2 separate regions of the Homo sapiens genome follow, and region 1 is linked to region 2. Evidence: promoter capture Hi-C in 16 types of primary human blood cells and fetal thymus (Javierre and others, 2016). All regions are on one chromosome and are shown on one strand. Each heading gives the region's core, a stretch centred on a gene start or on the middle of the fragment in contact. The rest is flanking DNA. Distances are from core to core; before and after follow the strand shown. Region 1 holds the start of RFPL3S (RFPL3 antisense). Region 2 overlaps LINC02558 (long intergenic non-protein coding RNA 2558).

Region 1 (3,136 bases), core at 330-2,829, 350 kb before region 2:
TATTCTTTCAGCACCTACCCCATTACACCCTCTGTTTTATAATCACTGGACAAAATATAGCATCATCTATATTAATGCAGATTGTATACATCATTTGTGACCTATTTATTTGTTCTAGAAATTTGTACTTAGCAATGATAGACATTTGTACTGTAATATTTATATCATGAAGGGTACCTATTCTCTTTGAAACATAGCAACTCTCTCATCTTAACCCTAAAATTTTCATTTGTTCTATTTATTTTAGGGCAGGTCACTTTCAACAGCTTGTTTTCTTGGGCATATCATAAAAGTATTTGCAATTGGGTGTTATGTATCAGCCAGAATACACACGTAGTTATACATTTTGAAAGTTATCTAAAATTCTGCATTCAGAAACACTTTAATTATATGTATTAGGCTGGGCATGGTGGTTCACGCCTCTAATCCCAATACTTTGGGAGGTCGAGGTGGGTGGATTGCTTGAATCCAAGAGTTGAAGACCAGCCTGGGCACCATGGAAAAACCCCATCTCTACAAAATATTAGCTGAGCATGGCGGCAAGAACCTGTAGTCCCAGCTACATGGGAGGCTGAGTTGGGAGGATCACCTGAGCCTGGGAGGTCAAGGCTGCAGTGAGCCATGATCAAGCCACTGCACTCCAGCCTGAGTGACAGAGTGAGACCCTGTCTCAAATAAAAAATTATATGTATTCACCCAAAGTGTTCACCCCACCGAGAAGATGCACTGGTGAAAATATAGTGATTTTTTTTTCCTTTAAATACTCAGTGAATGGCCAGCCGTTTACATACACAATGGTAGACAAATTCCTCTGTGAATTCACAAAGTTTGGGAGATAAATAAGTGCATAGTAATATATAGAGATAAGTGGAAAAATAAGTTTCATAATTATATTGTGAGAGAAATATGATTTTTATAATATCAAGTAACACTTTTTTCTAATTCTGAACAGTTTATTGCTTCTAGAAACATTAGATCACTCAGGAATGGTAGAAATATGACTTTTTAGGGAAATATGACTTTTAAAATGTGACTTTAAAAAATGTCACTTTTTAAGAAACATGACTTTTATAACAATATCCATTTATGCTGTCTTTAATTCTGAACAGTTTGCTTATTGGTTCTAGAAATATTAGATGACTCAGGAATGGTAGAAATATTTGGCAATGGAATTTCGAATCGAGAATGGAACTTCTGGTTGTTACTAACATATCGGTTTTGCCCCTGCTCAGTTTGAAATTCTTGCCATTGAGTGTATTTTGGGGTACACAATTTCTCCTCCTAAAACTTATTTTAATAAGCACAGAATAGTAATTAATGAGCTTGGGTTTTGTTGTTTTTTTTTTAAGTAAAACGCCTAATCTTTTATTTTATTTTATTTTATTTTATTTTTTTACGGAGTCTCGCTCTGTCGCCCAGGCTGGAGTGCAGTGGCGCTATGTCGGCTCACTGCAAGCTCCGCCTCCCGGGTTCACGCCATTCTCCTGCGTCAGCCTCCCGAGTAGCTGGGGGCTCCCGCCACCACGCCCGGCTAATTTTTTGTGTTTTTAGTACAGACGGGGTTTCACCATGTTAGCCAGGATGGTCTCTATCTCCTGACCTCGTGATCCACCCACCTCGGCCTCCCAAAGTGCTGGGATTACAGGTGTGAGCCACCACTCCCTGCCGTAAAAGGCCTAATCTTTAATGACCCTCCTGTGCGTGTGAAAGCACTCTTGTTGGTGCAGCAGAAAGCGGACCTCACAATACACATTGTGACTTTACCCTGAGACGTTGATGATGCTCCTATCACCATGGTTATGTGATTGGGTATATCTTGCCCTCGGTCCTAACTGCCACTGTCTGTGCTGAGTTTTTCAAAGTTCATAGCAGGTTGAACATGCTTGCTGTCATTTTCACAGATTCTGGTCTTTCTTATGGGGAACCTGAGTTCCTGCATTAAAGGTATGTTCACATTGGCCTGTTGAATGCTGTCCTCTCAAATGTACTAGTTAATATTTAAAAATATATTTTATTAAAAAATTCTCCTCTGTATTTTTCATATGCAGTTATAAATGTGTTTCCCGGTTATGTTTTATTCCTCAATTTATATATTTGATTCTAGTATCAAGCAGGATGCCTTTGAGCTTTTCCTTTATTTAAAAGACATGTCTTATTTCCTGTTACATCTGGCACCCCTCAAACCACCCAATTAGGTATCCTTCTGGGAAAAATATGGCAAAGTATGTTTTAATGCAGTTTTTACCTAATTAAGAACCTATTAAAATCATTAATTTTAAAAATTAGGAGCAAAGCTAGAATGATGCAGATGTCTTTGAGGCTTTTAACACAACGAAGTGTGTCCATCTTTGTCTTTTGTTGTTGTTTTTTTGTTTGTTTGTTTGTTTTTGAGATGGAGTCTCACTCTGTCGCCCAGGCTGGAGTGCAACGGTGCGATCTCGGCTCACTACAACCTCCGCCTCCCGGGTTCAAATGATTCTCTCGCCTCAGCCTCCCGAATAGCTGGGATTTCAGGCACCCACCATCATGCCCGGCTAATTTTTGTATTTTTGTAGAGACAAGGTTTTACCATGTTGGCCAGGCTGGTCTTGAACTCCTGACCTCAGGTGATCCACCTGCCTCGGCCTCCCAAAGTGGTGGTGTTACAGGCGTGAGCCACCACACCAGGCCCTGGCCTGTTTTTAGTATGTCTTTCCTCTCTCCTTTTTCATGAAATGTGTATTCAGTTTAGTAAATTTGGAATATGTCATTTATATTCACATATTAACTTTTTGAAAAGAAGTAAGAATGTGTATTGTCTATGTGTCAGTGTGTGAAACAAAACACACTTATTTTTATGATTGGGGTTTATCCAAAATGATAGAGATAACAATTATAGTCAATCACCCAAACCACTTACCTTTCCAAAGGTAAATATAATCAAGTGTAATCATTTTTTCTCATCCAGAGAGTAGTTCATATTTCAACATACAAAGATAGAGAAGTGAAATGAATCGGTAAACACTATTAACCAAGAACATACAGATTTACTCACACCAGGAAACACGTAGGTCACATACATATATGTAAAGATACATTTAAAAATAATAAGATGATAATTGTACAAGTTTGCATATAAAGTGTAACTTTGAAAAAC
Region 2 (3,252 bases), core at 591-3,090:
ATTAGGTTGTTAATTTTCTTATTGTTAAGTTTTAAGAGGTTTTTTTGCATATTTTGGATAATAGTCATTTGTCAGGTACATATTTTGCAAATATTTTCTCCCACTTTGTGCCTTATCTTCTCATTCTCTTGATATAATTTTGATAGATGTTCTCAAATTACTGTTACAGGTGGTACCAATTGATGCTCCCCACAGTGAATGTGTGAGAGTACATGTTTCCTCTCACAACGTAATGTGTCATCAATTTGTTTATGATATTTTCCAGTCTAGTAAGTAAAAAATAGTATCTCACTGTAGTTTTGATTGCATTTATCTTATTAGAGAGAGATTTGGTATATTTCAATATGTTTGTGTGCCATTTGTATTTCTTTCTATATAAGCTTTATGTTTTCTTTCCTTTTTCTGTTGAGATTGGTTCTTATAGTTGCCATGGATGGTGAGACTATGTTTGAGCAAATCCTGTGGGCCAGTTCAGCACAGAGCTCAATATCCTCAAGATCTCCTCTCTCTGCACTCTTCATTTATACAAGCTTCTTTGGCATTTGTACTCATTCACTGCCAGTATCCTCTGTGGTGCAAGCTCCTGAATTTTCATTGATACTGTTTATGTTCTTTTGACTAATGTTCCAGTTGTTCTATATTTGGTACTCAATGTGGTTTTACCCAACATGAGTCACTCTCTTCTTTCCCAGGGTTATCACACAGGGAAACCCCATTCTCCTTAGTCAGCAATACCTTAAGTTCTAGTACACAATCCTTTTACTGACACATGCCAACTGTGATCATGAATTATCACAGAGTTACTCATCTTTATAAATATTTTGAAACTCCTCTTAACTCACTACTACTGCCATTGTTACAATGGGATCACTGTTACCTCACAGTATCTCTGATGCCTGGTGTGTCATACATGTGAAAAGTATCACATCCAGGACAGGAAACAGCTCTCCTAATTCTCAGTTCGGAGTGCTTTCATTTATCTATCCATCTATTATTCATCTACCCATCGATCCATCCATCCGTCTACCTACCCATCCATTCATTTATCATCCATCCATGTAACCATGTATCTGTCCATCCGCCCACCAATTCTGTGATTACCTTGCTTTCAAAAAGGACTAAAAATCCCTATGCACCCATGTTCATAGCAGCATTATCCACAATAGCCAAAAGGTGAAAGCAACCCAATTGTCCATCAACAGGTGAATAGATAAGCAAAATGTGGTATATACATACAGTGGAATATTATTCAGCCTTAAAAAGGAAGGAAATTTGGACACATGCTTTAACATGGATGCCGGACGCGGTGGCTTATGCCTGTAATCCCAGCACTTTGGGAGGCAGAGGTGGGCGGATCACGAAGTCAGGAGATCGAGACCATCCTGGCTAACACGTTGAAACCCCGTCTGTACTAAAAATACAAAATATTAGCTGGGCGTGGTGGCAGGTGCCTGTAGTCCCAGCTACTCAAGAGGCTGAGGCAGGAGAATGGCGTGAACCCAGGAGGCAGAGCTTACAGTGAGCCAAGACCGCGCCACTGCACTCCAGCCTGGGCGACAGAGTGAGACTCCATCTCAAAAAAAAAAAAAAAAAAAAAAACATAGACGAACCTTGAGGACATTATGCAAAGTGAAATAAGCCAGTGATGAAAGAACAAATACTATGTGATTCCATTTATAATAGGTACCTAGAGTTAGTCAGATTCATAGAGACAGAAAGTAGAATGGTGGTTACCAGGGGCAACTGGGGTAGGGCGGGGGTGGGAGATTGGGGAGTTATTGTTTTAATATGTATTGTTTAAACAGTACAGAGTTTCCATTTTGTGAGATGAAGGGAGTTCTGTGGATGGGTGGTGGAGATGGTAGCACAACAGTATGAATGTATTTAATGCCACTGAAGTGGATACTTGATGGTTATGAAGGTAAATTTTATGTTATGTGTATTTTACCACAATGAAAAAAATACCTACAATAAGATTTATTGTCAGCAAGGATTTATTGAGCTGCTATAAGTTCCACGCCATGTGTGCTAGGCACTGGAAATAGAGCAGTGAATAAGAAAAAGTCCTAGACCTCACAGAGCTTGTCTTATAGTGGAGAGGACAGACAATAAACAAGTAAGCAAATAAATAAACAATACATTTATATTTTGTTATGAGTACTATGAAAGTCACAGATTGGGGTGGGGGTGGGATTTTCTGATTAAGATGCCCAAGGAGGGTGGTGGTGGCATGATCACGGCTCACTGCAGCCTCTACCTCCTGGGCTCAAATGGTCCTCCCACCTCAGCCTCCTGAGTAGCTAGGACTACAGGTGTGTGCCACCACACATGGCTCATTTTTGTATTTTTTGTAGAGGTGGGTTTCACTATGTTGCCCAGGCTGGTCTTGAATTCCTGAGCTCAAACGATCTGCCCACCTCTGCCTCCCAAAGTTCTGGGATTACAGGCGTGAGCCACTGTGCCTGGCTGGTGGTTGTTCTTAACCTATTTTGGGGTCACTGATCTTTCTGAGAATCTAATAGAAACCATGGGCCCTCTTTGCAAGAAAACACAAATATGGCAATTGTGCATAGAGTTTTAGGGATAAATGAATGTCTGAAACCCCCTCTGAGGGGGTCCATCCATGAGTCTTAGGTTAGAAACCTTTCCTTTTCTGGCTCACTCCTCAGTGTTCGATGGGATGAATTCCAGTATGCTTAGCAAACTGGCCAACCTCCCTGGTGGTTCAGTTTCTACCCACATCTCTGGCCTTATCTCCTGCTGTTCTGCCCAGCCATGCAGACCACAAGCACTTCCAGTTCTCTGAATACATATACCACATGTTCTGACATCTTCATACCTTTTCCCAACTGTGTTGACTCAGAAACTCCTACTTACCCCTTAAGACTCAATGCAAATATTCTCTCTTAATGGTTGTCTCTTTTGCCTCTCTCTCTCTACCTCCCTCAGCAAGACGTGTTAGACAAGTTAGCCATGTTCTGCCTCACCTTGCCTCACTATCACAGCATTTTTCACATTATAGTGGTTTATGTTCATTATTTTAATTCATTTATTCACACAGCTAATATTTATTGAGCATCTATTATGTGCTAGCCCAGTGTTAGGCACAGTGATGGCTAAGAGAGCCTGGCACTGTCCTCATGAAGCTTATAGTTTAGTGGGGAGCATAGATATTAAAAGTATAGTTATACAAATACCTGTAAATTGAAAATTAGGAAAAGTTTAGGAAGGATGAGAGCAGGGATCTTTGAG

Evidence for each region. The method cuts DNA at HindIII sites, captures the fragments that hold promoters and counts their contacts. A CHiCAGO score of 5 or more calls a contact.
Region 1: the fragment with the promoter of RFPL3S here is called in contact with a fragment that was not itself captured in region 2 in 3 of 17 cell types (M0 macrophages, M2 macrophages and endothelial precursors); the score reaches 7.4 in M0 macrophages.

The regions. Positions count from the first base shown.
Region 1 is chr22:32,369,707-32,372,842 of GRCh38, reverse strand. RFPL3S (RFPL3 antisense) reads left to right here and starts at 1,579. Exons shown (of 5, transcript NR_104232.1): 1 at 1,579-1,645; 2 at 1,902-1,944. The HindIII fragment of the contact is 20,480 bases long and covers 1-3,136 here.
Region 2 is chr22:32,017,822-32,021,073 of GRCh38, reverse strand. The region is part of intron 4 of LINC02558 (long intergenic non-protein coding RNA 2558); the gene reads right to left. Among named protein-coding and RNA genes, the nearest start is that of SLC5A1, 24 kb to the left of the region's middle. The HindIII fragment of the contact is 2,616 bases long and covers 533-3,148 here.